Linked DNA regions of Homo sapiens: regions 1 and 3 are each linked to region 2. The links are contacts of gene promoters, found by promoter capture Hi-C in blood cells and fetal thymus (Javierre and others, 2016). All regions are on one chromosome and are shown on one strand. The core of a region is centred on a gene start or on the middle of the fragment in contact, and the rest is flanking DNA. Distances in the headings are between cores, read along the strand shown. Region 1 overlaps DTWD1 (DTW motif tRNA-uridine aminocarboxypropyltransferase 1). Region 2 holds the start of COPS2 (COP9 signalosome subunit 2). Region 3 overlaps SHC4 (SHC adaptor protein 4).

Evidence for each region. Contacts are between HindIII fragments. The CHiCAGO score rates a contact against its expected background, and 5 or more counts as called.
Region 1: a contact is called between a fragment that was not itself captured here and the fragment with the promoter of COPS2 in region 2, in 1 of 17 cell types (naive CD4 T cells). The highest score is 5.2, in naive CD4 T cells.
Region 3: a contact is called between a fragment that was not itself captured here and the fragment with the promoter of COPS2 in region 2, in 1 of 17 cell types (naive CD4 T cells). The highest score is 6.1, in naive CD4 T cells.

The regions. Positions count from the first base shown.
Region 1 is chr15:49,628,494-49,632,270 of GRCh38, forward strand. It overlaps DTWD1 (DTW motif tRNA-uridine aminocarboxypropyltransferase 1), which reads left to right. Exons shown (of 5, transcript NM_001144955.2): 3 at 3,666-3,777. Among named protein-coding and RNA genes, the nearest start is that of DTWD1, 9.3 kb to the left of the region's middle. The HindIII fragment of the contact is 1,476 bases long and covers 834-2,309 here.
Region 2 is chr15:49,153,830-49,157,804 of GRCh38, forward strand. It overlaps COPS2 (COP9 signalosome subunit 2), which reads right to left and starts at 1,770. Exons shown (of 13, transcript NM_004236.4): 1 at 1,696-1,770. The coding sequence starts at 1,749. It also overlaps a transcript of GALK2 not described here and the pseudogene NDUFAF4P1. RefSeq lists enhancers at 1,516-2,045, 1,804-2,722. The HindIII fragment of the contact is 2,527 bases long and covers 901-3,427 here.
Region 3 is chr15:48,828,772-48,832,669 of GRCh38, forward strand. All of the region lies in intron 11 of SHC4 (SHC adaptor protein 4), which reads right to left. Among named protein-coding and RNA genes, the nearest start is that of CEP152, 20 kb to the left of the region's middle. The HindIII fragment of the contact is 182 bases long and covers 1,698-1,879 here.

The DNA.
Region 1 (3,777 bases), core at 322-2,821, 470 kb after region 2:
TGTGGTGCAATGTTACAATGGTTACACTTCGCTAGGCCATAGGCATTTAGAGCCTAGAATTTAAAAGGCTCTCTTGGGGAAAGTTGATAATCCCATGGGAAAATGCTTAGGTCTCCTTGTCAGTAGCATTTTGATAAACTTGGGCAGAAGGATTTGTGGTAAGTCTCTTTTATAAAACATAAGTGTTCGAGAGCAGATTGATATTCTTTACTTGTTTGAAAACAGAATGTCTCTACTCAGACTGCCCTCTGGTCAACACTATTTTTTTTTTTTAAACACAGTTAAGCTTTAATGTCCATACGAAGCCTCAGAGCAAATGTTTTTGTAGCTTGTAAAAAAGCAAATTTTTTTTCTTTCTTTTTTAATTATACTTTAAGTTCTTGGATACATGTGCAGAACTTGCAGGTTTGTTACATTGATACACATGTGCCCTGGTAGTTTGCTGCACCCATCATCTACATTAGGTATTGCTCCTAATGCTATCCCTCCCCTAGCTCCCCACCCCCAGACGGGCTCCAGTGTGTGATGTTCCCCTCCCTGTGTCCATGTGTTCTCCTTGTTCAACTCCCACTTATGAGTGAGAACATGCGTTGTTTGGTTTTCTGTTCCTGTGTGGTCAACACTATTTTGTTACTCTGTACTCTTGTCATTATTTAAGAAATAATCTTCTTTTAACATGTGTGAACTAGAACACAAACATGGATTTCCATGATTTGATCTGTTTCTGTGCTTTGGTTTTATGATGTGAGAGATCTCACGCTCATGGAAAACTAACAATACCTTGGATTGTGTACAGGTTTTGCATAATTATGCTTGCAGACTTTAGTTCATAAAGCTTTTTCTTTTATCATATAATTAAAAAAATAGGCTAGGCACATGATTTATAAAATTTGTCAATAACACTCCTGTGTTCTTGATATAAATGATACCCTCCAAGATAGCTAGCTGATCAGAAATATTGATAACTTTTGGAATTTTCAGCTTTACTCATCAGCCATATAAGAAGTTCACATTTATGATCTGCTTTCTTTTTCTTTTCTTGTCATGATCTGCTTTTTTTTCTTTTCTTACTTCCTACCTTCCCTGGGCTAAGATAATACTGATGTGGTGCTCAGAGACCCTAGGGAGAGGGAAGGTAGTTTCAACTGAGACCGAGCGTCATGAGGAAACTCTGATGTAGTGTTCAGCCAGAAGTAGACTGATGTAAAATCATTTGTGAACTGCCTACTTAAATGGTAAATTTTCCATAACTAGAAGTTGGTTTGATGATTAGAAGCAATTGGGCCTAACTTATAAATGATCATTGGGCCTAACTTATAAATGATTGCTAGGCCTAAGCGGGGAGGGTAGGAGATACAGCATTTGAAACCCTAATTGAAAACTATTTGAGGAATTCATTTGTAGGCCAAGGTCCTCCAGGGGTGTATTATTTATACTGTTCTGTCCCCAACATAATTGTCCAGGAAGAAAAAAATTTGAAATTGAAATTATTTAGTAGCTGCTCCATTCAAAAATAGTTTTGGAACTAATGACACACACACACACACAACATGGAAGAACCTCAAAATAATTATTCTTAGCTAAAGTCAAATGAAGAGGGTATATTGTATGATTTCATTTATATAAAATTCTAGAAAGTACAAACTATAGTGGCAGTGGATTACTGATTGCCTGAGGAGGGCAATTGTTGATGGTGAGAGGAGAAGGAAGAAGGGCTTGAGAAGACTTTTGATAGTGGCAAATCATTATTTTGACTGTAGCAGTGGATTCAAGAATTTAACATATGTTAAAACTTATTAGATTGTACACTTTAAATATGTACAGTTTAAGACATAAGAAAAATAGTTTTGTCCTCCAGGGTAAAATAGTGTGCCCAGGGTAAATTCCTAGAATCCTACTTATTTAGCATGGGATGGGAACTTGGAGATGGTGGGAACTACCAAATAAAACAAAAGGTCATTTAAAAGCTGAAGTCAAGAACACATCTCCAGAGGGTTTCTTATATATAGTAAGGGAGATATGATTTGGCATTTTTTTCATAATCATGGCTGAATGCAGTACTTGTATAAGCATTACAAAGAGAGCTAAACCAAAAAAGCCAAAGTGAAATAAGAAAAATATAATTTACAAAATCCAAGAGAATATTATTTTTGCATAGAGACATGTTACAGACAACATCTATAACAAATAATGAAACTTCAAGGGAAATACTTAGGCAACAGGGGTCCCCAATCCCCAGACCACAGACCAGTACCGGTCCTAAGGAACCAGGCCGCACACCAAGAGGTGAGCTGCTGGAGAGCAAGCGAAGCTTCCGTCTGTATTTACAGCCGCTCCCCATCACTCGCATTACCACCTGAGCTCTGCCTCCTGTCAGATCAGCGGCAGCATTAGATTCTCATAGGAGCATGAACCCTATTGTGAACTGTGCATACAAGGGACCTAGATTGCATGCTCCTTAGGAGAATCCAATGCCTGAAGATCTGTCACTGTCTCCCATGTCCTAGATGGGACCATCAAGTTGCAGGAAAACCAGCTCAGGGATCCTGCTGATTTTACATTATGGTGAGTTGTATAATTATTTCATTATATATTATAATGTAATAATAATAGAAATAAAGTGCACAATAAGTGTAATGTGCTTGAATCATCCCCAAACCCTCTCCCCAAACCCTGGTCTGTGGAAAAATTGTCTTCCACGAAACCAGTCCTTCTTGGTGCCAGAAAGATTGGGGAGTAGTTAGGCAAGATGATTTTGAAGACAGTTTTGTGATATAAAGATTACACCTCTTAGGTCTATTGTTACTATTTTTTAATTGATAATTATTTAATTTGTGCTATTGAAAATGTGATGCCGAAAATCATGATGTTTCCTGCAAAGGATAACAGTTTTGACTTGAAAGTATGTCTAAGGAACAGAATTTCAACTTGAATTTTAGATCTGAAGCTTTTTGCCCAAACTTACATTTCTTTTTAAAATAGCGTAAGAGGCCAGGTGTGGTGGCTCACTGGTAATCTCAGCACTTTGGGAGGCTGAGGCAGGCAGATCGCTTGAGGTCAGGAGTTCAAGACCAACCTGGCCAACATGGTGAAAACCTGTCTCTACTAAAAAAATACAACAATTAGCTGGGCATGGTGGCAGGTGCCTGTAATGCCAGCTACTTGGGAGGCTGGGGCAGAATTGCTTAACCCAGGAGACGGAGGTTGCAGTGAGCCGAGATCACACCACTGCACTGCAGCCTGGGTGGCAGAGTGAGAGTCCATCTCAAGATAAATAAATAAAAATAAAATAAAATGGCATAAAATAGGCAAACCTAAAGTTTATAGGATTTATTAAAATGTCCTTGGCACACATGGTGAAATGCAAAGAATTGGAGTTAATATAACTTAAGTGAAAATGACATTGGAGCTTTGCTTTAAGAGAAGATTCTCTGTTAAATGAGTTGAAAATAGTTGTCCTAATACATGAATAACAATGCCAAGGAAGAAATTTGGGTTGGTTTTGTAACAATCACCATTCTTAATATTATGGTATATCTTTTAAACCATATGCATATTTATAGGAGTTTATTGTGAGCTTCCTATTTAGCTTTAAAGACCCTTTTTATTAACATAAAAATTAAAATGTTTATATATTTTTTTATTTGTGCTTTTTTTACCTTTAGCTTCCATTGAAGATTGACATCATTAAACATCCAAATGAAACAGATGGCAAAAGTACTGCTATACATGCAAAACTCTTAGCACCTGAATTTGTAAACATTTACACGTATCCGT
Region 2 (3,975 bases), core at 520-3,019:
AGAAGTTGATTTCACGGTGGTAGAGAGTAGAATGATAGGAAGGGTGTTGTGGGGGGAAGAGGAGTGGGGAAGTAAGAGAAGTTGGTTAATGGTATGTACAAACCAACAGTTAGATAGAAGGAGTAAGTTCTAATGTTTGACAGCGGAGCAGGGTGACTATGGTTAAAACGTATTTTATATTTCAAAATATCTAGAAGAGATGACTTTAAATATTCCCTAGACACAGAAATGATAAAAACACAAGGTGATGGATATCCTAAATACCGACTTGATCACTACATATCCTGTGCATGTAACGAAACCCCCCATAAATATGTACAAAATACTATGAATCAATTAAAAAAATACAAGCACATATAAAAGAAACATTTTGATAACAAAACACCTGTAATATAAATAAACAGGTAATAAGTAAAAATGGACAGATACATATTCTTAATGAACTGAAGTCACTGCCTACAACTGGCTTGCACAAACTAAAATGTAAGGTAGAAACCATAACTATTAGCGAAACTACATTTAACTTTAAAAATTATAAAAATCTCTACTATGACTTTCAAATAATAGCGAGAATTTCCTTTCTCCCTTTTGCAAAGTGTGCCTTATTTTAAAATGCAAAAAACTGAAAATATATACGAAAAAGTTATAGACTAATTCAAAACAATGTATTAATATTTTGACAATCTCTGGCACTTAAAATGAGTCAGACGTCCCAAAACATCTATTTCGTAACTTTATGATAATGCAGCATCACCATAAAAGAACCATATGAAACACCCCCAAAATAAAGAAACACAGCAAAATTGACGTTAATTCTGGATCAAGATAATTTTCTGAGTTTCCACACGATGTTTTTGAATAGCAAACGTTATTCAAACTTGCAAATCCATTAATAAATGAAGCTTTGAATCTTTAAAAATCTCCATTCGGTCAGAAAAATTCGTTTATTTCTATGCTGTTGCTGTTTTAAACTTTGTATACTGGGAAATTTCTAAGGGAAAAGCCATGGGTTCAATTATCTTTCACCCGTCCTCCAAAAACACCACAAGCAAAACCTCCTCCCCAGCTTTTCTTTATAAAGAACTGAAAAAGTGGTTCGACTACCTTTTTTTCAGTTATCTTTGCTCTGAACTCTCCCCTACACACTTACCTCGGACCAAAACTGGCCCTGGCAAGACTATTTAAGCTATGTCTCCAGGAGACTCACAAGTTGCGTTTCGCAGTCAGGCCTGGGAGCAGTAAGGACACCCCCGTTTTCTGACTTCTCCTAGCATTTCGCACCCGCTCAGTTCCAGTGTGAAGAAGTGGGGGCCCGGAACGCTGGGCCCGAAAGGGCAAAGCCAGGGCCTACACCGCAGCATGGTCACCGAGGCGGCTAGCGCGGTGGGGAGGCAGAAGACAGAGAACCGAACGCCTGGGACCAGGGGCATCCGTGTAAACCGAAGAGGCGCTCAGACTCGGAGGGCAAGGCCCGGGGCCCCCTTCGCTGCCTCCTTTGCCCTCCCTTCCCCCATGCTGGAGAAGCAGGGCCCGGGCCCGGTGCGGGAACGGGGAGGAGGTAAACCAGTCCTGTCACCGCACTGAGAGAGGCTGTAAACGGCACATGCTCTACGGGGAGAGGCCGCGGGCGCCCCGGCCCGGACCCCGAAAACAAGACACATCACCACCCTCAGAGTTCCATTCCCTGCGCCTCACCAGGTCGTAGTCCTCCTCATCATCGCACATGAAATCATCCTCCATGTCAGACATCTTGGCCGGGAGGGGGAGGAGAAATTGGAGACAACCTCCTCCCACAATCCTCCGCGGCTCAGAGGCGTCACTCTCAGCTTCTTTCCGCCTTCCAGTCCCTCTTAGAGGAGCTGTTTCCTGCCGGAACTAATTATCTCGACTTGTAGCTGATTCGCTACGACTCCAAAAGAGACTGCACCACCCCCCGTTTCCTCCGAAGTGGTTGGTGCCTTAGCAACTAAAGCTGGCAACTGGGACATCGTCCGGTGCTGCAGGTCTCAGCCGAAGGGCGTCGGAAACTGCGCTCGCATCGAGCAGTTTCCAGCCTCCTGGGTAAAGGAGCAGTCTCCTCCCTTGCTTGGGACTCTGGACGCATCTCATTCCGGTGAAAGTAAGGGACAGCTTAGGACCAGAAGCCTTTCGCGGAGAAAAGGCTGACATGCCCGTCCTATATGACAGGTATTATTTCTGCTATCATTGTACGTGTGCATTTAGCCCACACATTGCGGTGGGTGTTCCTAAGATACTTGGAGTACTTTTCAGCAACACAGTTTACACTTAATGCTTGTTATATTTGTAGTTGACAAAACAATTCTATGGATATCCTAAATTAGGTATGCAGCTATCAGTTGAGTTGCCTTAAATCTTACTCAGTTGTTCAACGAGTTGTAAACTGACCTTTACAGCCCTTGGGACCAAATTAAGGTAACAACGACTGGTTTTTAAAAAATACATTACTGTGAACCTGAGGGCATCATGTTGTAAGGAGATGGGGGCTGCGGTGACTCGCGGGATCAGGAATTTCAAGAGAACCGAGCGGAAAGGGAAATCCGCAACATGAAGCCCTCTCTCGCTCCCAGGCACCCCTCTACCAGCAGCCTCCTGCCAGAGCAGATTAGTCTCTATCCAGAAATTAAGGGAGAGATTGCTCGTAAAGATGACAAGCTGCTGTCATTTCTAAAATATGTGTGTGTTGATTCCAAAGATCCTGTGTCTTCCGTGCAGCTGAAAGCTGCTGAAACACGTCAGGAGCCAAAGAAATTCAGATTGCCGAAAGGCCATCACTTTGATATGATAAATATTAAGAGCATTCCCAAAGGCAAAATTTCCACTGTAGAAGCATTGACACTTTTCAATAATCATAAACTTTATCCAGAAACATGAACTGCTGAGAAAATAGCGCAAGAATATCATTTAGAACAGAAAGATGTGAATTCCCTTCTTAAATATTTTGTTACTTTTGAAGTCAAAATCTTCCCTCCTGAAGACAAGAAAGCAATACAATCAAAATGAAGAAAATCACAAAAATTTCCTATGTGTACTCCTCATCCCTCATCCTGTATATTTTCTTATTTTTGCATATTAAATTATGTTAATTACCAAGTGTTTAATGCTCTCATTGTGAGAGCATCCTCTTAATATTTATTGAGCTCCCTGAATTTTCAAGATTGCCATAGACTGTATTTTGTTTTCTTTTAATTTGGTTTAGGCATATTTCATATGTACATGTTAGCATGACTAATCAGCACATCTGTACCTTTATTATAAGTAAAAGAGTTAATTTGTTATTTTAGACACATCATACCAACTTTTAAATTGGTCATATGACCCCTTGGGAAGTGTCCTGAATCCCTCATTTAAGTTTTCCTATCCAATTTAGGTGTTTAGTTCATTCTTCATATGTGATAGTGAAAGTAAAAGCTTTCCTGACTCTTAAGACTGACATTTTCTTGCTAGGGAAAGAGACTCGATAGTAAGGTAGACTAACAGTATTTCCCAAATAAAGGCACATAGGAGAAAATAAAGAATCAATAAAATCTAATTAAAATTACTACCCCAGGGAATAAGAAGTATTGAGGATTTATTTTATTTTGAATTGGTTTTAAGTATGGAATAATTGTCTTTACAGTTATAAAAAGTAATTAGTGGTGTTTACGAAATGTTGGGAATTTCTGCTTTGACAAATAGTTAAGTCCCATGGCCTTCAGAGAGAGAGGCAGTAGTAGAAACTTTCGAAAAAGTAACATTTCTCTGGATTTAACATGGAACTAGAAAAATTTAAAGAATAATTAAAAAACCATGGTAAATGAAATTTGGTGATTATATATAGTTTTGGATGTTAATGCTAGTTGAGAGAAGAGAGAAAAAATAGCAAGTAGAAGCAGAGAACAGGATCATTGGAAGGGACCTGAGAAATTGCTGCTTTATCCATTTTAGCAAACTTATTAGCACGGCATGTACCAGTAC
Region 3 (3,898 bases), core at 539-3,038, 330 kb before region 2:
GCATGTTTTCATATACCCGTTGGTCATTTTTTGGTCTTTTTGGAGAAATCTCTATTCATTCAAGTCCTTTGCCTATGTTTTCATTGGTTGCTTTTATTTTTTTGCTATAGAGTTGTAGGCGTTCCTTATATATTTTGGATATTAACTCCTTATCAGATACATTGTTTGTAAATAGTTTCTCTCATTCTGTAGGTTGCCTTTTCACTAAGCTGATTGTTTTCTTTGCTGTGCAGAAGCTTTTTAGTTTAATGTAATGCCACTTCTCTAGTGTCCCTTTTGTTGCCTGTGGAAATACCAGTTTTCCTTCTGCCTCTAGTTTCATTCCACTGATACTTGTTATGATGTCAGCCTCTTAAATTTGTCAAGACTTGTCTTGTTATCTAACATAATCTATTCTGGAGAATGTTTTGTGTGCACTTGAGAAGAATATGTATTCTGTTGCTGTTGGATGGAATGTTCTGTATATGTATGTTAGATCCACTTGGTCCATAGTGTTGTTCAAGTTCTTTTTTTCCTCATTGATCTGTCTGGTGTTCTATCCATTATTGAAAGTGGAGCATTAAAATCCCCTACTATTATTGTTTTGCTGTCTATTTCCCCCTTTAGTTCTGTCAATGTTTGCTTCATATATTTGGGTACCCTGATGTGCATATATATTTATAATTATTATATCTTCCTGAAGAATTGATCCTTTTATCATTATATCATGTCCTTCTTTGTCTCTTTTGATATTTTGACTTAAAGTTTATTTTGTCCGATATAAGTATGGCCACTCCTGCCATTTTTTGGTTATCATTTTCATGGAATATCTTTTTCTAAACTTTCACTTTCAACCTACGTGTGTCCTTAAATCTAAAGTGAGTCCTTGCCAGGCGTGGTGGCTCACGCCTATAATCCCAACACTTTGGGAGGCCAAGCAGGTGGATTACCTGAGGTCAGGAGTTTGAGACCAGACTGGCGGACATGGTGAAACCTCGTCTCCACTAAAAATATATAAATTAGCTGGGCATGGTGGCGCACCCCTGTGGTCCCAGCTACTTGGGAGGCTGAGGCAGAAGAATCACTTGAACCCAGGAGGCGGAGGTTGTAGTGAGCTGAGATTGTGCCACTGCACTCCAGCCTGGGCAATAGAGCGAGACTCCGTCTCAAAAAAATAAATAAATAAAATAAAGTGAGTTTCTTATAGATAGCATGTAGTTGGAGCTTGTTTTTTTTTAATCAATTCAGCCACTCTATGCTTTTTGATTACAGAATTTAATATATTTACATTTAAAGTAGTTAATACTAGAGAAGAACTATTACCATTCTATTGTTTTCTGTCTTAAAGCTTTTTTTGGTCCTGTTTCTCCTTTCTTGCTGTCTTCCTTTGTGTTTCATTAATTTTTCATAGTGAATAGGCTTTAATTCCTTTATCATTTTGTTTTGTGTATCTTCTAGAAGTATTTTCTTTGTGATTACCATGGGGCTCGCATAAAACATAGCTATAACAATCTCTTTTAAACTGATAACACCTTAACTTCAATCACATACAAATACTCTACACTGTTATTTCTCCACACACAATTTTATGTTATTGATGTCACCAATTACATTTTTAAATTTTGTGTATTCATTAACATATTTTATAGTTACATAGTTATTGTTGCATAATAACATTTTGGTTAACAACAGACTGCATATACAATGGTGATCCCATAAGCTTATAATGAAGCTGAAAAATTCCTATTGCCTAATGCAATTGTCCTGAAGAATTGACTAATGAGTTGTTGGAACTGAAACAGGAAGGCATAGCTGAAGAGGAGGCAAAAGGAAAGGAAAGTGCAGGCAAAGAAAAAGAAGAAGAACCCCCCAAAAAATTAACAATAAAGAGTTTAGCAGAAGCTTTTTCAGACCTTAACAAGCTTCTTGAAAAGACTAAAAACATGGATCCCCAACACCAAAAGGTTTTCATTAATAGAAAAGAATGCTCATGTTGCATTATCTGCGTACGAGCAAATCTATGATGAAAAAAGAAACAAAGCAAGCAAACCGCCAAGGTCATATTTCTGAAAATAGTGACACTTTCTCAAGAGACTCAAGCAGGTCCTTTAGGAGATATTCTAGAATAAGGCATTGTTATCATAGGAGATGACAACTCCATGCAAGTTATTGCTCCTTAAAGACTGTGGAACAATATGTGGAGATAGAAGACAGTGATATTGATGATCCTGCCCCTGTCTAGTGCTAGCCTAATGTCTGTGTTTCTGTCTCTATTTTTAACAATAACAAAAAAGTTTAAAAGTAAAAAATAGAAATAAAAAATTTTAAAATAGGAAAAACCATATAGAATAAGGATATAAAGAAAGAAGATATTTTTGTACAGCTCTATAACCTATATTTTAAGCTAAGTGTTATTACAAAAAAGTCAAAAGATTAAAATAATTTAAATGTTTACAAAGTAAAAAAATTACAGTAAACTCAAGTTAATTTATTATTGAAGAAAGAAAATTAAAAAAAATAAACTTAGTGTGGTCTAAGTGCATAGTGTTTATAAAGTGTGCAGTAGTGTGCAGTAATGTCCTAGGTCTTTACATTCGCTCACCACTCACTCGCTGGCTCATCTGGAGCAATTTCCAGTCCTGCAAGCTTCATTCACAGTAAATGTTCTACATAGGTGTACCATTTCAAATCTTTTATATCCTATTTCACTGCACCTTTTCTATGTTTACATACACAAATATTTACCATTGTGTTACAATTGTCTACAGTATTCAGTACACTAACGTGCTGTATAGGTTTGCAACCTACAAGCAATAGGTTATACCATATAGCCTAGGTGTGTAGTAGGCTATACTATCTAGGTTTGTGTACATATATTCAAAAATGTTTGCACAATGAAAAAATCATCTAGCAATGTATTTCTCATAACATTTCCCCATTGTTAAGTGATATATGACTTATTTTTCACATTTTTGTCTTTTAACTTCTATAACCAGAATTAAAAGTTATTTACACACTGCCATTATAATATTACAGTATTCTGTGTTTTTCTATATATTTACCTTTACCAGCAAGCTTTGTACTTTCATATGCTTTCATGTTACTGTTTGGTATCCTTTTGTTTCAACTTGAAGGACTTTAGCATTTCTTGAAAGGCAGATCTAGTGCTAACAAACTCCTCATCTTTTGTTTATCTCAGAAAGTCTATATTTCTCTTTCATTTTTAAAGGATGGTTTTGGCCAGGAACGGTGGCTCACGCCTATAATCCCAGCACTTTGGGAGGCCAAGGCAGGTGGATAAACTGAGGTCTGGAGTTCAAGACCAGCCTGGCCAACATGGCAAAACCCTGTCTCTACTTAAAATACAAAAAATTAGCCAGGTGTGGTGGCGGGCACCTGTAATCCTAGCTACTTGGGAGGCTGAGGCAGGAGAATCACTTGAACCCAGGAGGCAGAGGTTGCAGTGAACCGAGATGGTGCCATTGTACTCCAGCCTGGGCGACAAGAGTGAAACGTGGTCTCAAAAGAAGAAGAAGAAAAAAAGAAAGGATGGTTTTGCCAGATGGAGTAGTCTTGGTTGGCAGTCTTTTTTCTTTTAGCATTTTGAATATATTGAACCCACTGATAGTCTTACGGTGGTTATGATAAATGTGCTGATAGTCTTATGGAGGCTCTCTGGCACATAATGAGTCTCTTCTCTTGCTGCTTTCAAAATTCTCTGTTTTTGACATTTTGATTATAATGTATCATGATGTGAATGTCTTAGGGTTCCTCATAGTTGGAGTCCATTGGTCTTCTTGAATCTGATGTTCATTCTCATCACTTACTTGGGAAGATTCAGACATTATTTCTTTAAATAAGCTTTCTGCCCCCTTTCCCTCTTCTTCTTCTCCTTCACTCTCTTGTTTTTGAACTCCAA